Linked DNA regions of Homo sapiens: region 2 is linked to region 1. Evidence: promoter capture Hi-C in human tissues and cell types (Jung and others, 2019). All regions are on one chromosome and are shown on one strand. The core of a region is centred on a gene start or on the middle of the fragment in contact, and the rest is flanking DNA. Distances in the headings are between cores, read along the strand shown. Region 1 holds the start of SPRYD3 (SPRY domain containing 3). Region 2 holds the start of AAAS (aladin WD repeat nucleoporin).

The links. Contacts are between HindIII fragments. The study calls those that stand out against the background at their distance.
Region 2: a fragment that was not itself captured here is called in contact with the fragment with the promoter of SPRYD3 in region 1 in 2 of the 25 tissues and cell types used here (dorsolateral prefrontal cortex and liver).

What each region holds. Positions count from the first base shown.
Region 1 is chr12:53,076,069-53,081,397 of GRCh38, reverse strand. It overlaps SPRYD3 (SPRY domain containing 3), which reads left to right and starts at 2,008. Exons shown (of 11, transcript NM_032840.3): 1 at 2,008-2,087; 2 at 4,137-4,283. The coding sequence starts at 2,065. RefSeq lists a silencer at 2,028-2,307. The HindIII fragment of the contact is 7,407 bases long and covers 1-5,329 here.
Region 2 is chr12:53,316,564-53,321,892 of GRCh38, reverse strand. AAAS (aladin WD repeat nucleoporin) reads left to right here and starts at 283. Exons shown (of 16, transcript NM_015665.6): 1 at 283-550; 2 at 1,201-1,328. The coding sequence starts at 428. RefSeq lists enhancers at 117-166, 247-436, 1,655-1,744. The HindIII fragment of the contact is 4,789 bases long and covers 1-3,644 here.

The DNA.
Region 1 (5,329 bases), core at 759-3,258:
TTGAGCTCAGGAGTTTGAGACTAGCCTGGGCAACACAGTGAGACTTCGTCTCTAATTAAAAAAAGAAAGGAATAAATTGTACACCTTAAATATATATGGTTTATTGTATGTCGGTTATATGGCAATAAAGTTGTTTATTCAAATACATGTAGACACCAAACACAAATTACCAACTGGGTCCTGAGCATGCCAATGGATGGAGAATTCGCCAAAAAGGTGAGCCCCACATCTGGAACTTAAAGGTGAGGAAATCCCGAGTGGAATCACCAACCATCAGTAACAGTTTGGAAATGCCTTCTTCTGCCATTTCTCTCCATGTCTGACCCTAGCCACCTAGCTAGTTAGTTTCTGGAATGAGCCCTGGTCTGGGATGAACATGACTCTGGCAGCCTCCTAAGATTGTCCCTCTCTGGCTGCCTTTGGGAAGAGCTGAGCTCAGTGTTGAGGTATTTTCATAACACAAGAAGAGGAGCGGAGGAGAAGCAATGAGGGAATCAAAAGGAGGTGGAGATGAGTTGGAAGGGTAGCTATTCAGAACTGAGTCATCCAGGGGCTGGAAGGGAGCTAAAAGAACACATACTTCAATAATTCTTGTTTAGGGATGAGAACACCAAGACCTTGACCTTTTAGTCACACAGAATTGGGGCTCTAATCCGGGTTTCTCTGTTTCCCATCTCATCTATTCCTATCACCCATTGCCGTTATGCCGAGTGGGCACTATTCACGGTATGCGAGCTGATGGCTTTCCTGGCACTCAACACGTTAGAGTACCTAGTGTGATAAGAATAGAATAGTCTGGGGTCTGAAGGAGCTCACAGTCTAGCAGAGACGGGTCTACACACACAAGTAACTCCAATAACGAAAGCAAGACGGTAATAAGTGTTATAAATGGCGGGGGGCGGTGGCTCACGCCTGTAATCCCAACACTTTGGGAGGCCGAGGTGGGCGGATCAAGAGGTCAGGAGATCGAGACCATCCTGGCTAACACGGTGAAACCCCGTCTCTACCAAAAATACAAAAAAAATTAGCTTGGCGTGGTGGCGGGCGCCTGTAGTCCCAGCTACTTGGGAGGCTGAGGCAGGAGAATGGCGTGAACCCAGGAGGCAGAGCTTGCAGTGAGCCGAGATCGCGCCACTGCACTCCAGCCTGGGCGACAGAGTGAGACTCCGTCTCAAAAAAAAAAGTATTATAAATGAGGTGCTACAGAGGAGAGGAATCTTTTCCGTCCAGAAGAGAGAGATATGGTGATGGGAAGGGAGCAAGGAAGTCCTCATCTAGGAGTCCAACCCCCCAGAATGGCAGGTAGGCACTCCCTAGTAGGTGTTCAATAAATATTCGTGTCTTCGTCCCTTCACATTCTAACCCCAGTCTAACTTTCCTTCAGCCTACCAAAGCCCTGTGTTCCTCCACAGAATGCCGCTTCGTGCCACTGTGCCTTCTGCATCCCCAGTTCTCTCCTCCTGGAATGGAATGTTCTTGCCAATAATGAGCGAGCGGTGCCATGAAACAGAGCTCGGGAGGGTACACAGCATAACAGTTAAGCGCGCAGGCTATCGAGGCCAGCCTTCGGCCCATCCGTAAAAAGGAGATAAGATTTATTTCATAAGGCTGCACCGTGGATTAAATGGACATTCCGGTAAAGCTTTTATTTCAGTCCAGCGCGGAAGGAGGGCTCAAGTAATACTCGCAACGTTTGTGCGAGCGTGGCCACCTTCTCCGCCCGTCCCGTCTCCCCGGCGCCGCTCAAGAGCCGCCCCCTGTCCGCCTCAGCGGCGCCCAGGCACCCAGCAGCGTCCGCGCTGCCACGTCGCCTTCGCTCACCCCAGCAACAGCCGGGTTGACCAGACCGGGGCCCTGAGCTGGGTACCCAGGGCACCGGGCCGCGCCCCACACCCTGCCTGCGCCTTCCGATTGGCTCCTGCAGGTGCCCGTCGTCAGAGGCCGTTGCTGATTGGCTTAGATGGGGGACGGGGCGGGCCTCTAGGAGTGAAGGAAAGGCGGGGACCCGGATGTGTGTGGTGGCGGCGGCCGAAGAGCTTGTGTGCGGAGCTGAGAGGCCTATGGATGAGGAGGACGCGGCGGCCCCGGTAGGCGGGGATCGGGGGCGGGGTCCCGGAGGCCTCGTATCTCCCCGGAGCCTGAAGCGGAAGGCGGGGGTCCTGGGCGGGGGCTCTGGGGCCAGGGGCGGGGCCCTGCGCTCTGGTCACTGGGCTTCTTCTGTTGCTGCACCCTCGGCCCAGTGCAGGGCCTGGGGAGACTGGGCGTAGGCACACGGATGGGCTGGGGCCCGGCTGCTCCCGGGTCTCATCTCAGTGATCAGGCCGTGCCCGGGGAGGAGACAGGGCCCAGTAGGGCCGCCACTCGCCGGTGCCAAGACTGTGGGGTCTGCGCAACCAGCATCTACCTGGGGTTGAGTCCTGGCTGAGTGCCCGGGAGTGGAATCTTAGGGCTGTCTGTCCCACAGGTGCCTACTCTTCTGGGCCACGTGGTGGGTTGTAGCTACTGCATAAGAGTCGTAATTTGCGTATTGGGATCAAATTCAGCCCAGCCAAGGCTTACTAAGCACCTACCGTGTGCAAGGCAATGTCAGGCCTCAAGAAAACCCCTGTCCCAGTGTTTAGGGAATGGGAAGAGAAGAGTACTTCACCTCTTTCTCACTTTTGGCTCCCAGGAAAAATCATTCATTCATTTATATGTAGGGACTGATGGTTGTTTAAATACCTGGATCATCCCACCCCCATCCATCGGCGCTGCTACCGACTTAGTGGATGTCATTTCTCATGTGAACTGCTGCAACAACGTCTGAATTGTTTGCCCACATCTGTTCTTGATCCTCTTGTGATCAGTTCTCCAACCAGCAGCTGGAATGATCTTTAGGAACTGATTAAGATCGTGGCTTTTTTTTTTTTTTTTGAGATGGAGTTTCTGTCACCCAGGCTGGAGTGCAGTGGGACGATCTCGGCTCACTGCAAACTCCACCTCCCAGGTTCAAGCAATTCTCTTGCCTCAGCCTCCTGAGTAGCTGGGATTACAGGTGCGCACCACCACGCCTGGCTAATTTGTTTGTATTTTTAGTAGAGATGGGGTTTCACCATGTTGGTCAGGCTGGTCTTCAACTTCTGACCTTGTGATCCTCCCACTTCGGCCTCCCAAAGTGCTGGGATCACAGACGTGAGCCACCAGGCCCAGGATCATGGCATTTTTTTTTCTTTTTTTTTTGAGACAGGGTCTTGCTCTGTCAGCCAGGCTGGAATGTAGTGGCACAATCAGAACTGACTGCAGCCTTGACCTGCCAGACTCAAGCCATCTTCAGTCTCCTTAGTAGCTGGGACTACAGGTGCATGCTGCCACACCTGGCTCATTGTTTTAATTTTTAGTAGAGATGAGGTCTCACTACGTTGCCCAGGCTGGTCTGGGTCCTGGCCTCAAGCGATCCTCCTGCCTCAGCCTCCCAAGGTGCTGGGATTGCAGGCATGAGCCATCATACCCAGCCAATCATGGCATTTCCTTGCTTACAACCCTCCAGAAATTTCCATCTTGGAATAAAATCCAGAGTCCTTACCATTTCATTGTCTGTAGGGCCATGATCTGACTCCTGCCTTATTCTCATCTTGTACATTCTCCCTCACATTCCCTATATACCAGCTGTCCATGCCTTTTTCTGTTTCTCTACCATGCCAGCTCTCTTCCATCCAAGGACCTGTGGCTGCCCTTCCTGCCTGGAATATGCCTGGCTTGTCATGCCTAGCTCCTTTTCAACTCAAATGTCACCTCCTCAGAGAGACCGCCTCTGTCCACTCTATCCACTGCCTCCAGATTCTTTATCATATCACCCTGTTCTTTTCTCCACTGCCTGAAATTATGTCTGTTTATTGCCTGTCGTGTCCACCTCCCAGCCTGTGAGAATGGGAATCCTGTCCATCTTGTTCACAGCTCCATCCCTAGCACGGAGAAAAGCACACAGAGTAGGTGCTTGGTAAATGTTTGTTGAATGGAAGAAAGAAGATGAGGGTTGTTGAGGTCAATCTGGGCAGCTGGCCTCAAGGCCAGTGCCTTCTCTACCTTCTGGGTCACAGAGGCTGAGGTGCTTTACCTAGGGCCCTGCTTTCTCCTCAATCCCCTTCTCCCCTTGGCAGGTTTGTTCTCATGAACAAGATGGATGACCTCAACCTGCACTACCGGTTTCTGAATTGGCGCCGGCGGATCCGGGAGATTCGAGAGGTCCGAGCTTTCCGATATCAGGAGAGGTTCAAACATATCCTTGTAGATGGAGATACTTTAAGGTGAGTTCAGGAGAATGCTTCCACATTTTCTTCTCTGTTCCAGATCTTAGAGAGGAAAGGGTTTTTTTTTTTTAACTTTTATTTTTTCAGAGAAGGGGACTGTGCACTGCACAGGGAAGGGCGATGCTCTTGACTCCAGAGGCCTTTCTTTTTCTTTTTTTTTTTTAAGACAGAGTCTCGCTCTGTCACCCAGGCTACAGTGCAGTGGCGTGATCTCAGCTCACTGCAACCTCCGCCTCCTGGGTTCAAGCGATTCTCCTGCCTCAGCTTCCCAAGTAGCTGGGATTACAGGCGTGCACCACCACATACGGCTGATTTTTTATATTTTTGGTAGAGACAGGGTTTCACCATGTTGGCCAGGCAGGTCTTGAACTCCTGACTTCAAGTGATCCACCCGCCCAGAGGCCTTTCTGAGTGGAGCAGTGTGTGCTGCTTCACCCTGCACTCACCTCTGCCTCTGTCACTGGGTGGCTCTGTCCTCATCCAGCAAGGAGGGGATCCAGCTGGGTAGGGGAAGGGATCACATCAGACACAGGAGGCTGCTGGGGTCTCAGAAGCTTCCTAGGTGCTTTGTTGAGAAGACTCCAGTGGGGTAACTGAGTCTTCTGCCACTGTCTCAGGGATTAGATCTAGTGAAGAGTGGCTGTTTCAGAGATAGTTGATTTCCTGTTTGGGGAAGGGCCATTCTATAGTGTACCCTGTCCACCAACTCCTGTATTTCCAGCCCCTTAGCTTGTGTGTGTTTCCTCCCTCTTTTCTGGCTTGAACCCCTTCCCTGACTCCTTCTGAGCCCATGCTCTCACAGAGTTCCACTGAAGGGGGAAGAAAGTAGTACTGTTTAACTAGAGGCAAGAAAGCTGAGGAGTGGGAACTGAATCACTGTCTTCCAATCGATGAAGGGCTTTGGTAAAGAGGATAGAGACCAGCCATTATTCTCCAGCTCCACTGAGGACAGAGCCAGAGGAAAAGGGCTGAAGCTGCAGCATGAGAGATTGAGGTTACACAGGGTTGTGAGACCTCTCTTAGGCAAGTAAGGGAGGCTCTAC
Region 2 (5,329 bases), core at 1-2,500, 240 kb before region 1:
TGGGAGGATTAATTTGGTACTTCCCTGAATGTGGCTTATTTCGGGCTTTCTAAGCGCTAAGATAGTGAGTGGGAGAAGGTGTTCGGGAATTCGGAGCTGGGAAAAACAGTAGTCTCATGGAAAACAACAGAAAAAAACCCCACTCCAGCCTGGTAACCAACGGTTGGCCGGGGGACGTGTCCGCGCTGCTCCCCCTCCGGCCGCCAGGGGGCGCAGGAAGAAGCTTTGGAGGTCTGTCCCGGGACCGCGTACTCGTCCTTCTTTCCCGTTAGTCTTTTCTTCACTTCCGTTGAGTTCCGCCTCGCCGTTTGTCCCTTGCGGTACCCGTCCGCATACGAATCTAGCCCGGGAACCGAGTTGCGGGAGTGCGGTCTGTGCCGTTCCGGCCAGGAGTTTGCCGACTGCAGACGTCCTGCGAACCGGCAAGATGTGCTCTCTGGGGTTGTTCCCTCCTCCACCGCCTCGGGGTCAAGTCACCCTATATGAGCACAATAACGAGCTGGTGACGGGCAGTAGCTATGAGAGCCCGCCCCCCGACTTCCGGGGCCAGGTGGCCAGGGCGAGGAGGGAGGGGACCTACAGGCATGGGGGCGGAGTCGGGGACTACTGGGGAAAGGAGGCAGTGTGACAGGGGCAGGGTCACAGAGTCTGGCGGAGTGGAAACAGCTTGGCCCCGGCAGGAGGCTAGAAGGGCTGGAATCTGTTTTAGGACTGGGATTGGAGTATAACGGGGGAACGGTTAAGGAGCTGTGGAGGAGGCCTAGAGGGAATGGAGAGAATGAGGGAGAATCTAGGGAGTGTGAGGATGCGGGAGAACTATCTAAAAGTTGGGGACAGTATCTGGGGAGGATCAGAAGGATACAACATGGAACTTTTTTCCATGGTGTTCCTGGGAAGGACAAGGAAGGGAAACTGACATTTATTGAGCGTTTGCTATGTAAGAAAGAGGCTGAGTCAGGTGTTTTCTAAAAATGTCATATGGTTTCATAATCACAGCAACCCTATGAAATATTATTCTAGTTGCACAGATACGGGAGCTAAGACTTGTTTCCCATTCTCACAAGTGTTAGCTTTGTGGAAATGGGAAACAGACCTCTGGAATCTCTTATACTTAGCCCAGCGGTGGGTTGGAGATGGCACGGAATTAAAGATTTGGGAAGAGACTGAATCACCGTCACACTCCTCACTTTTGTGCTATAGTGGATCAATCTTCCTGTCCTACAACTGACAAAGGATCCCCTAAAGACCCCTGGAAGGCTGGACCATGGCACAAGAACTGCCTTCATCCATCACCGGGAGCAAGTGTGGAAGAGATGCATCAACATTTGGTGAGGCATGGCAAAGGGTTTCCTGGGTCACAGTCTGCAGATCCTGGAAAATGAGTCAACACCCCTTTACCTTGGGGTGTTCTTCAAAAGACTTTTATTCAGGCTGTCTCCACGAGAGCTGTATATCCTAAATCATATGAAATTTTTAGTCCTTATTATAGAACTCAAATGCTCAATAAATGTCAGGTTCCCTTCCTTGCCCTTCCCAGGAACACTATGGAAAAAGTACTTCCATTTCATCTCTAGTAACTTGCCTTGCTTTCTGGCTTGATTAGGTGAACCTGCTCCCTGCCCCCACCTCATGGCATTACCACTTCTGAGCTTTTACCTGAAGCTCAGCAAGATCAGATATAAGGTTGCACTGAATAATCTCCTACATAGGTCATCCACTTTGCACTTGTAGGAGTGGAGCTACACTACCTGGTTTCATTTTCTTTTTTTTTTTTGAGATGGAGTTTCACTCTTGTTGCCCAGGCTGGAGTGCAGTGGCGTGCTCAGCTCACTGCAACTTCCACCTCCCAGGTTCAAGCGATTCTTCTGCCTCAGTCTCCCGAGTAGCTAGGATTACAGGCATGTGCCACCACGCCCAGCTAATTTTGTATTTTTAGTAGAGACAGGGTTTCTCCATGTTGGTCAGGCTGGTCTTGAACTTCCGACCTCAGATGATGTGCCCGCCTTGGCCTCCCAAAGTGCTGGGATTACAGGCGTGAGCCACCGCGCCCGGCTCATTTTCTTTTTCTTTTTTTTTTTTTTTTTTTTTTTGAGACGGAGTCTTGCTGTGTTGCCAGGCTGGAGTGCAGAGGTGCGATCTCGGCTCACTGCAGCCTCCGCCTCTCTGGTTCAAGCAGTTCCCCTGCCTCAGCCTCCCGAGTAGCTGGTACTATAGGCATGTGCCACCACGCCCAGCTAACTTTTTGTATTTTAGTAGAGATGAGATTTCACCATGTTGGCCAGGGTGGTCTGGCCTCCTGACCTCAGGCCTGCCTTGGCCTCCCAAAGTGCTGAGATTACAGCTACTGCACCTGGACCTATTAATGGCACATATTAATTCCTTTAAGGGTTATTTATGCCAGGCACAGTGACTCACGCCTATAATCCCAGCGCTTTGGTAGGCTGAGGCCAGCAGATTGCTTGAGCTTAGTAGTTTGAGACTAGCCTGGGGAACATGGCGAAACCATGTTCTTTTCTCTACAAGAAAAGTACAAAAATTAGCTGGGTATGGTGGCATGCACCTTTATTCCCAGCTACTTGGGAGGCTTATGTATAGGAGGATCACTTGAGCCTGGGAGGTGGAGGTTGTAGTGAGCCAAGATTGTGCCAGTGCAGTGGCACTGAGTGAGACCTTGTCTCAAAAAAAAAAAAAGGGTTACTTAATATTTTTATTAATACCATTACCATTTGTAGGATAAATTCCTAGAAATTAAGTTGCTGGCTCAGAGGGTATGTTCATCTGTAATTTTGTGAGCTGTTCCAAATAGCCCTCTGTCAAAATGGTACATGTATATGGTCCCACCAGCAGTGTATGGGAGTGCCTGTTTTCCAACACATGTGCTGTCAAGCTTTGATCTTTGGTACTTCAGTACAGTTTAATGGGCATGCCTGTGTGTGTGAAGTTGAATATCAGTTTGTTGAAAAGCCATTCATTCCCAGGCTCCTTGTCTCCTACTTCTGTGGCTGCTGCTTCTCAGGGTTTTTGGTGGCTCCTCTTCCTGATGTCCCTTAAATGTTGGTGTTCTTGGGGCTAGATTTCCAGTTGATGCATCAGACCTGGTGTTCACGTGTTTGCCAAATTATCCTGCTTGAATATTTCGCAGACTTCATATATTCAGCATGCTCAAATCCAGTCTCTTTATTTCTCTCTCCAAATCTGCTTCTCTGGATGGTTCACTTTAAGGAATGATCATATTACTCATTCAGGAAAAAGTGGTTTGAGTATAGGTTCTGGGGTAGATAGATGGTTGAATCCTGACTGCTACTTTCTACTTAGATTACCTTGTTCATATTAATTAGCCTCTTCACACCTTTGTTCTCTCATCTAAAAATGCAGTGATAGTCTGGGCGCGGAAGCTCATGCCTGTAATCCCAGCACTTTGGGAGGCCAAGGCGGGTGTATCACTTGAGGTCAGGAGTTCGAGACCAGCCTGGCCAATGTGGTGAAACTCCGTGTGTAATCCTAATTACTCAGGAGGCTGAGGTGCAAGAATTGCTTGCACCCAGGAGGTAGAGGTTGCAGTGAGCCGAGTTCACACCACTGCACTCCAGCCTGGGTGACAGAGTGAGACTCCGTCTTAACACACACACACACACACACACACACACGCACACACACACACACACACACTGAAACCCCATCTCTACAAAAAATTTAAAAATTAGCTGGGCATGATGGTGTGCACCCGTAGTCTCAGCTCCTCGGGAGGCCGAGGCAAGAATACCTGAGCTCAGGAGATTGAGGCTGCAGCGAGCCGTGATGGTGATATTGCACTCCAGCCTGGGTCACAGAGCAAGACCCTGTCTCAATAAAATAAAAATAAATGCAGTGATAACAATACCTATCTTGTAGGATTGTCATAATGGCTTGATTAGTTAATGTGAGGCACCTAGTCCAGAGCTGGCACATTGTAAGCATATTAGCTGATGTAATTATTACCTAGGTGTTTCTGTTGTATTGCTCTTTCCTTTACTAATGTCTGATTAGTCTTCACATCTTGTTTATGCTAATTCCTAAATCTCTCAAATCTGTCTCTTTTTCTTCATCCCCACCAGTTCAGGCCACTTTCACCTTTTTCCTAGGTTCCTGAAGTAGATTCTTTTTTTTTTTTTGAGACAGAGTCTCACTTTGTCACCCAGGCTGGAGTGCAGTGGCGTGATCTCAGCTCGCTGCAACCTCCGCCTCCTGGGTTCAAGCAATTCTTCTGCCTCAGCCTCTGAGTAGCTGGGACTACAGGTGCACACCACCACGCCTGGTTAATTTTTGTTTTGTTTTATTTTTTTGGTTTTTTTTTTTTGAGACGGAGTCTCGCTCTGTTGCCCAGGCTGGAGTGCAGTGGCACGATCTCGGCTCACTGCAAGCTTCGCCTCCCGAGTTCACTCCATTCTCGTGCCTCAGCCTCCCGAGTAGCTGGGACTACAGGCGCCCACCACCACACCTGGCTAATTTTTTGTATTTTTAGTAGAGATGGGGTTTCACCGTGTTAGCCAGGATGGTCTTGATCTCTTGACCTTGTGATCCGCCCGCCTCAGCCTCCCAAAGTGCTGGGATTACAGGTGTGAGCCACCGCACCTGGCCAATTTTTGTATTTTTAATAGAGATGAGGTTTCACCATCTTGACCAGGCTGGTCTCGAACTCCTGACCTCGTGATCCACCTGCCTTGGCCTCCCAGCGTGCTGGGATTACAGGTGTGAGCCACCGCACCCGGCCCTGAAGTAGATTCTTAACTGATTTATTTTTCTCTATTATTATTATTATTTTTTGAGACAGCATCTTGCTCTGTTGCCCAGTGTGGAGTGCAGTGGCGCAAACATGGAACACGGCTCACTGCATTGTCAGCCCCCAGGGCTCAAGTGATGCTCCTTCCTCAGCCTCCCAAGTAGCTGGGACTACAGGCATGTGCCACCACACCTGCCTAAGTTTTGTATTTTTTTTTGTAGAGACAGCATTTCCCTATGTTGCCTAGGCTGGTCTCAAGCTCTTGAGCTCAGGCGATCCACCTGCCTTGGCCTCCCAAAGTGCTAGGGTTGAGCCACTGCACCTGGACTTTTTCTATTTTTTCTCTTCTTTTTTTTTTTTTTTTTTTTTGTCTGAGATGGAGTCTTGCTCTGTTGCCCAGGCTGGAGTGTGGTGGCACGATGTTGGCTCACTGCAATCGCCACCTCCCGGGTTCAGGCGATTCTCCTGCCTCAGCCTATGGAGTAGCTGGGATTATAGGCATGGACCACCACACCTGGCTAATTTTCATATTTTTCAACATGTTTCACCATGTTGGCCAGGATGGTCTTG